3 separate regions of the Homo sapiens genome follow, and regions 1 and 3 are each linked to region 2. The links are contacts of gene promoters, found by promoter capture Hi-C in blood cells and fetal thymus (Javierre and others, 2016). All regions are on one chromosome and are shown on one strand. The core of a region is centred on a gene start or on the middle of the fragment in contact, and the rest is flanking DNA. Distances in the headings are between cores, read along the strand shown. Region 1 overlaps EIF4EBP2 (eukaryotic translation initiation factor 4E binding protein 2). Region 2 holds the start of TYSND1 (trypsin like peroxisomal matrix peptidase 1). Region 3 overlaps EIF4EBP2 (eukaryotic translation initiation factor 4E binding protein 2).

Region 1 (2,812 bases), core at 284-2,783, 260 kb before region 2:
AAGTGTTTTCTCTGCTTTTTATTCTTTCAACTTAGGAAGGTAGAACAAGGTCTATGTTTTATTGACTGAGTTATAGAACATTCATGAATGAACTTCAGTTTTAAACATCTGTTCTTCATGGAGACTCTGGATGAAGAGACAGACTCCTGAAAAGCTCTATGGCAAATAACCCAGAGGAAACTAAAAGCTGCCTAACTCTGTATTCTTCAGGGAGACAGGTGGTGGCCAAACCACATTCACTGTGCACAACCATCAAATCTCTGAAGTGCTAATAAACCAACAAAGACAATTTTTATCTTAACAAAAGAAACAGGGCTGGGCATGGTGGTTCAATCCCAGCACTCTGGGAGGCCGAGGTGGGCGGATCACTTGAGGTCAGGAGTTCGAGACCAGCCTGGCCAACATGGTAAAACCCCATCTCTACTAAAAATACAAAAATCAGCCACGCGTGGTGGTGGGCGCCCGTAATCCCAGCTACTCAGGAGGCTGAGGCAGGAGAATCACTTGAACCCAGGAGGCGGAGGTTGCGGTGAGCCAAGATGGCGCCATTGCACTCCAGCCTGGGCAACAAGAGTGAAACTCTGTCTCAAAGAAAGAAAGAAAAAAAAAAGCAGCTCCCTTCACCCCCAATACTCTTTATTTTGGTATAGTTCACTTTCACTCCCAGTGGATTATTTTCCCTTCTTCCTGCTTTCTCCTTTTTTCCAAACCCATCCAATGACCTTTATGAAATTCTGTCCCAATGAACCAATCATATCAACTATCCAAGAGGCAGAAGAGCTACAACCCAGACAAAATTTCAGACCATCACAGTTAGTTCCCCTCTGCTGCCCTTGTTATGGTAACAGCATACTTTTCCATGGCTGATGAGAACTCTGTGAAGGAAAAGAAAGGCAAAGAGAAAGGGTAAAAGAGGTGTCTCTGTTTCTGCTCATTCCGCAGAGCAAAACAACTCTTCTAAAAGGGGGCAGTTCAGCACCTAGAAAGGAAATAAGGTAGCGGAAAGAATCATATTAGCTAGCATTCCAGAGGTAGAAAAGTCTCTTTAAATGTTTGCAAACTTCCTTTCCTAGTAAGATAAGCATCTCAAAACAGTAGAGGAAAAAACTGGAATAGTGATCAGGATACTAAATTTGAGGGACTCACGGACAATAATTAGCTGTTTAATACTAACAAGTTACTTAACTTCTCTGGGTCCCAATTTCTCTCAATAATAAAATGAAAGCATTAGGTTTCTTCTAGGTCACTAGTGTTATTAAAAGTGGAGCCAACTATAGTAACTTTACCTTCCTTTGAGGGCAGAGGTAGCTTCTCAATGGAAGAACCAAATATCATCCCCACTCCTCCACAGGCAGATAGAAAAAAAAATAAAATCCAAGAGCTTTTTTTTTGGCCTGGAATTTGCCCAACAAAAAGTTTCCTCTTCCTTCATAAGGAGAAAGGGTACTCTTCCAGCAATATGAGAAATCCAAGAGGTTACAGCAAGTGTGTTTTCACCCACTTCTCACTTCCCAAACCACAGAAAGACAATTTTGAGAAAGCTCAAGGGTAAGCTGTATCTCCTGTGATCCCCAATGAATAAAGAACTCTTCAAGGGGGAGAAACTCTAAGTTTGCTATGCTGTGAATGTCCCTGCTCAGTCTGATCATTTAGGGCATTCGGTCCATCAACTGTTGTTATGCTGGAATGCTCTGACATGTATGTGACCCTCCAGAAGATTTCTAGAAGTTTGAGGCAGGAAATGTTAATCCCCTCCCTTACCACTAAATAGAGATTTCCAATACAAGCCTATCACTCATTTTTCTAAATGTTTTCAAGTCTGAAATATATGTTAGCACTTGACTCTACTCTTTCAGAACTAAAAATCTTATCTGTCTGCCCCTACCCCCAAATCAAGAATTTAAACCTGTTCAGACCAAGGACTGTATTTCCTACTTTTGTCTGTTGTCCCCTTTTGTGCGAACCACTCCCCTGGGCACACAAAATTTACTAACGATACCTAACCATATTAATCCAGGAGTCTGGAGGTGGCCAGATAACAAACTATTGCACCCTGGTTGAGGGAAATAAAATTACATGATGAGAGGAAGATGAATGTAGCATTAGAGATACACAAACCGTCAGAGGGGGAAGTTAAATCAGTAAGTAAAGAACACCTAAACAGTATTCATTGCTGTAATAGTGATTAAATCCAACTGCAACGGCACCATGTCCTTATAAAGATATTAAATAAGCCCTCATGTTAAAAATCCACTGATTACAGCCAGGCGCAGTGGCTGACGCCTGTACTCCCAGCACTTTGGGAGGCCGAGGCGGGCAGATCACGAGGTCAGAAGATTAAGACCATCCTGGCTAAGCCGCCCCGTCCGGGAGGTGAGGGGCGCCTCTGCCCGGCCGCCCCTACTGGGAAGTGAGGAGACCCTGTGCCCGGCCAGCCGCCCCGTCCAGGAAGGAGGTGGGGGGGTCAGCCCCCCGCCCGGCCAGCCGCCCCGTCCGGGAGGGAGGTGGGGGGGGTCAGCCCCCCGCCTGGCCAGCCGCCCCGTCCGGGAGGTGAGGGGCGCTCTGCCCGGCCGCCCCTACTGGGAAGTGAGGAGCCCTCTGCCCGGCCAGCCGCCCCGTCCAGGAAGGAGGTGGGGGGGTCAGCCCCCCGCCCGGCCAGCCGCCCCGTCCGGGAGGGAGGTGGGGGGGTCAGCCCCCCGCCCGGCCAGCCGCCCCGTCCAGGAGGTGAGGGGCGCCTCTGCCCGGCCGCTCCTACTGGGAAGTGAGGAGCCCCTCTGCCCGGCCAGCCGCCCCATCCGGGAGGGAGGTGGGG
Region 2 (2,700 bases), core at 60-2,559:
GACTGGGGAGGCTGAGGCAGGAGAATAGCGTGAACCCAGGAGGCGGAGTTTGCAGTGAGCGGAGATCGCACCATTGCACTCCAGCCTGGGCGACAGAGCGAGACTCCGTCTCAAAAAAATAAATAAATAAATAAAAAATAATGTGTATTTTATCAATTCAGTGATAAAGCAGACCTTTGTAAACTGTCTAGCTTGTGGTGACTGATTGAGGGTATCATGAAGCTCCGCGCCCCCCCACTCCCCGACATACTCGTTCATCCTCCTCTGTCCTAAAGCGTACTTCTTTGGAAAAGTAGAGCAGTTTATGTTAGTGTACACTAGAGATGGTAAACTATGCCTTGTGGGTCAAATCGGGCCTGCTGCCTGTGTTTGTATGGCCTGTGAGCAAAGAAAGGTTTTTACATATTTAAATGGTTGGAAAAAATATTTAAAGAATGCTATTTTTGGACACAAAAAATTGTATGAAATTAAAATTTCAATGTCTGTATCTTTTTATTGGGACACAGCCACCGCCATTCCTTTAGCTTTTGTATGCAACAGCTGCAGAGTTGACTATTTGAGACAAGTTGTATGGTCCCCCCAAACTGGAACTGTTTCCATTCTGGCCTTCTACAGAAAGTATTTGGACCCTGGCCTAGATAAATCCTGGCTGGTGGTTATGTTATGTGAAATGTGCACACTGTAAAATATAGGCCTGTATGATTAAAATTTTTGATTTCAGCTACTGTTCATAGTCGATTTAAAGGGCAATTTAATTTACAGCAAATCCAGTTTCTCGGAGATTTGTGTTGGGGCTTTGGCAGCAAAAAAAAATCCTAGGAGTAATCTTGAGAGTTCCATGCCCCCTAGTGGATTGCTATAGGGTTTACTTTTAAATTTTCAAAACACTGAATTGGCCAAGGATTTCCTTGGTCCATATTATCCCAAGGGTCAGAGGCTGAAGGTCGCCTAGACCTGGGCAGATGCTCACAGGTACTGTCGTGGCCTGGGCAAATCTAGGCACGTCAGCGCTCATTTCTATTCCCTTTCCCACATTCCAGCAAACGAGACTAGGCTTGAAGGGACCCACCCTCCTCTCCTCTGATTCCTCGTGACGCCGCACTCCTCTTACTCTCCCCGGGGCTCATCCGGGGGAATGGGGCAGATTATGTCCCACCGGTTGGACAAACTAACGAGGGCGGGGAAAGGAAAAAAAAAATCAGAATAGGAAGCCAATCAGAGCTCGGTACAAGCCCAGCCAATCGGGTCGGGTCAATTGGGGCTTAGCCAATCGGGCTCGATGAGGAAGACGTGAGTCAGAGCTTGCGCCTCTCGCTTCCAGCTGTGGGTGGCGCTAGGCAGCTTCAGCCGGACCGGGTAGGGGTCCTCGCTCGCTAGCTTGCTGTTTCTCGGAGAAGCTCCCGAGTGTCCGGCCTAGAGGCCATGAGAAGGCAGTGGGGGTCTGCCATGAGGGCGGCCGAGCAGGCGGGCTGCATGGTGAGCGCCTCCCGGGCCGGACAGCCCGAGGCGGGCCCGTGGAGCTGCAGCGGGGTAATCCTGAGCCGTAGCCCGGGCCTGGTGCTTTGCCACGGGGGCATCTTCGTCCCCTTCCTGCGAGCTGGCAGCGAAGTCCTGACCGCGGCCGGCGCCGTCTTCCTGCCTGGCGACAGTTGCAGGGACGACCTGCGCCTGCACGTGCAGTGGGCCCCAACGGCCGCGGGTCCCGGGGGCGGCGCGGAGCGGGGCCGCCCAGGGCTGTGCACGCCCCAGTGCGCGAGCCTCGAGCCCGGCCCACCTGCCCCGTCCCGCGGGCGTCCCCTGCAGCCCCGGCTTCCTGCTGAGCTGCTGCTGCTGCTGAGCTGCCCGGCCTTCTGGGCCCACTTCGCGCGCCTCTTCGGGGACGAGGCAGCGGAACAGTGGCGCTTCTCGAGCGCGGCGCGGGATGACGAAGTGTCGGAGGACGAGGAGGCGGATCAACTGAGAGCGCTGGGCTGGTTTGCGCTGCTGGGCGTGCGGCTAGGCCAGGAGGAGGTGGAGGAGGAGCGCGGGCCAGCCATGGCGGTGTCGCCTCTCGGGGCCGTGCCCAAGGGTGCGCCATTGCTGGTCTGCGGCTCCCCTTTCGGCGCCTTCTGCCCCGACATCTTTCTCAACACGCTGAGCTGCGGGGTGCTCAGCAACGTGGCCGGCCCACTGCTGCTTACCGACGCACGCTGCCTGCCCGGCACCGAGGGCGGCGGCGTGTTCACCGCGCGGCCCGCGGGGGCGCTGGTGGCGCTGGTGGTGGCGCCGCTCTGTTGGAAGGCCGGCGAATGGGTGGGCTTCACGCTGCTCTGCGCCGCCGCCCCCCTTTTCCGCGCCGCCCGCGACGCGCTTCACCGCCTGCCGCACAGCACCGCTGCCCTGGCCGCCCTTCTGCCGCCAGAGGTGGGCGTCCCGTGGGGTCTGCCCCTCCGAGACTCCGGGCCCCTGTGGGCAGCCGCGGCAGTGTTGGTGGAGTGCGGCACCGTATGGGGCTCCGGAGTGGCTGTGGCACCCCGCCTTGTAGTGACCTGTCGGCACGTGTCCCCTCGGGAAGCAGCCAGGGTCCTGGTGCGCTCCACCACCCCCAAGTAAGCCCGCAGGGCTGACGCCACTTCATCCCTTTCCAGGTCTCAGATCTGGGTCCAGCCCTAATACTCTTGAGTATTGTGCAGGCCTTTCTTGTGTCACGCGGATGCTTTG
Region 3 (2,700 bases), core at 176-2,675, 280 kb before region 2:
AAAAATTAGCCAGGCATGGTAGCACGTGCCTGTAATCCCAGCTACTCAGGAGGCTGAGGCAGGAGAATCACTTGAACCCAGGAAGCGGGGGTTACAGTGAGCCGAGGTCGCACCACTGCACTCCAGCCTGGGCAACAGAGCAAGATTCAGTCTCAAAAAAAAAAAAGTCTTCATTAGCAGTAAGATCCTTACCTATCCTAATTGCCTTTAGGGCAGAGTAAAGGATGTAGGAAAGCGCTTTTAAGGTTTTGGTCCCATCTTCCCTTAAAGAGATCCTTTAGTCCTTCTATAGGTTCCATGAGTAGGTGGTAGCTGCAGTGCTCAAACCTGTTCCATTCCTAAACTTACACACTTGGAGGGAAGAGGAGAGGGGGCTGAATAATCTCTGGGTGTCCATGTCAACCGGGCTGTGCTTGAGTCCCTTAAATACTGTTTCCTGAGCTGAGTATACTAGGCACTGGGCTCTTTATGACATCAACTGGGCCTGACAACCACCTAGAAAAGTTGTTTCTTAACCTTATTTTAGAGAAAACTGAGGCTTGTAGAATAAGAATTCTGCTGGGTAATTTGGCTACTAAGCAGCACAGCTGGAACTGAAGCTGCCTGACTCCAAAGCCTGTGCCCTAAACCCCTAGACAGTTCCGATGGGAAAGCTTCCTCCAGTCCAGTTTTATTCTGTGGACCTCTGTGCACGTGAAAGAATTCTCATTCTCAGGACTAATACATGAAACCCGCTGGATTAGTTAACAGCAGGGAATCTGACGCTCATGCAGCACAGCTTGGTTTGAGGTAACAGGCATGATGGGCATCTAACCAGTGCTCCCAGGGGCACAGGCAGCCCCTCTTCTGAGAAAGGAAAAGTTGTTTGGGCTTCCTCAGGGCTGGCACTTAAGAGAAGGACATGCTTGGGTGCCGTCAGCCCAGCATATACATGTTCACCTGCAAGCTCCTGAGCACAGGACCAGGGTCATGCTCCCTGAGAGTCCCACCATCTCCTTTGCATACACAGGTCCACATTGACAAAGTGCATGCTCCGCAAGTGTGGAGAACTGACAGATAAAGAGCCAACTGCCTCTTACCTCTGCCCATCTCCCCCACCAGCTGAAACTCCTGAAATGTGAAATAACCTTAGCAGGATTTCACCAGAAATTTTTAAAAAATTAAAACACCAAGTTGATACTCAAGATCTTTACTGATTTAACTATAACAGCAACCATTGATGAGAATTTAATTTTTTCCTTAATTTCCAAACATCTGCTGGTTTGGAAGAATAGTTAAAATACAAAAACAACTGATCATGGAATCACACAGGACTGCCTCAAGGACTGCGTGGTACCCTCTGCTATCCATCCACACACAGTGAAATGGATGGGAGGGATGAGGGAACAACACATCATGGGAGACAAAGGGAAGACCAAGGAAAGTGCTGGCAGTCTCCGCTTTTCCATTCAGAATGGATGGAACTGGGCCGTTAGTGGCACTAAGACAGGGCAGGGCTATTTTTTTTTTTAAATAAAATATTTTAAAGATGCATAAAATGGACACCTTAGCACGTGAGTGTCCTCTGGGCTCTTCAAGACACCTTCTTTAAGGTTTACCCCTGGAGTAGCAGAGGGTCTCCTCACCCAGGTGGAAAGAGATGGGCTCCATCTGCAGATGAAGGAAAGGCACTGGCGCACAGCACTCAGCAATGTAGATACAGGCACCAGGTAGGAGCAGGATGGCTTACCCAGCAACCTGCCTCTTAGCTCCCTGCTAGTGTTCTTCCCTCCTCCCCAGTTTCCAGTTAAAAGTACCCTTGGCCTGGGCTTTAAAAAAAAAAAAAAAAAAAAGATTAAGCTGGAGAGAAAGGGGATACACTTGGGCAAGAATGGATATTTTGTGCTAGATTCATGGAATTTTCTAAGTGTCCAGGAGTTTTGGTTTTAAGCACCGGCAAGAGCTCCCTTTGGAAATTTCAGTGTGGCCAAATGATTATCAAGCATTGCAGCATCTCTGCCAGCCTCCCACCCTTAGAAAGGTGGCAGAGTGAGAGTTTAAATACCCTTGGAAATGTGTTTCATCTCAGTAATATTTCCACTGGGTATCCATGACATACAGTATGGTCTGCCAGGGCTGCAGGCAGAGAGCCATAAGCAAAGAGAATCCACAGACCCGCTGAACAGGGACTCAAGCCTTCTCCTAAATCTAAGCTTTGCCAAAAGGTTATCAACTTCCAGGACCAGCCTAGAGAAATAAATTTAAATTCCAGAGAGTAGGCTAGGTGATGTAAGTGACTGACTGAAAAAACAAGTATCAATAACTCTTAAAGTTTTCAGTTAGAAATTTCTGTAAGTTAGCCTCAAGAAACTCCACTACTAAACTGGAAAACCATGACTAGGAACAGGAAGCGGCCCTGGGGTAGAAGCATTCTAAAGAATTGTGACCCAACTGCATCAATATCTGATTTCATCTTTTATTAAAAGCTGAGAGTTAAAGAACTGTAGGGATAACTAAGTCCACCTCAAAGTCCAGACAGAAACTGCCCTCCCAAAGAAACAATGTTTCTTTAAAACAAATACCACACCTTCCCAGATATTATGGGTAGGTAAGTGACTAGGTTTTGCAGATTAATCTATAGCTGCCCATGTGCATGTAGTCCAGAAAACATGCCAAGAAGGAAGAGCTCTGAACCAGACACAGAAAGGCAGTGTGGCTTCC

What was found. The method cuts DNA at HindIII sites, captures the fragments that hold promoters and counts their contacts. A CHiCAGO score of 5 or more calls a contact.
Region 1: a fragment that was not itself captured here is called in contact with the fragment with the promoter of TYSND1 in region 2 in 9 of 17 cell types (neutrophils, non-activated CD4 T cells, naive CD4 T cells and 6 more); the score reaches 10.8 in neutrophils.
Region 3: a contact is called between a fragment that was not itself captured here and the fragment with the promoter of TYSND1 in region 2, in 1 of 17 cell types (neutrophils). The highest score is 5.5, in neutrophils.

The regions. Positions count from the first base shown.
Region 1 is chr10:70,407,863-70,410,674 of GRCh38, reverse strand. The region is part of intron 1 of EIF4EBP2 (eukaryotic translation initiation factor 4E binding protein 2); the gene reads right to left. Among named protein-coding and RNA genes, the nearest start is that of EIF4EBP2, 5.1 kb to the right of the region's middle. The HindIII fragment of the contact is 7,442 bases long and covers 1-2,812 here.
Region 2 is chr10:70,145,309-70,148,008 of GRCh38, reverse strand. TYSND1 (trypsin like peroxisomal matrix peptidase 1) reads left to right here and starts at 1,309. Exons shown (of 4, transcript NM_173555.4): 1 at 1,309-2,588. The coding sequence starts at 1,423. It overlaps SAR1A (secretion associated Ras related GTPase 1A), which reads left to right. Exons shown (of 7, transcript NM_020150.5): 7 at 1-720. RefSeq lists silencers at 1,538-1,847, 2,178-2,407 and an enhancer at 1,998-2,047. The HindIII fragment of the contact is 18,251 bases long and covers 1-2,700 here.
Region 3 is chr10:70,427,092-70,429,791 of GRCh38, reverse strand. It overlaps EIF4EBP2 (eukaryotic translation initiation factor 4E binding protein 2), which reads right to left. Exons shown (of 3, transcript NM_004096.5): 3 at 1,174-2,700. Among named protein-coding and RNA genes, the nearest start is that of NODAL, 13 kb to the left of the region's middle. The HindIII fragment of the contact is 1,539 bases long and covers 656-2,194 here.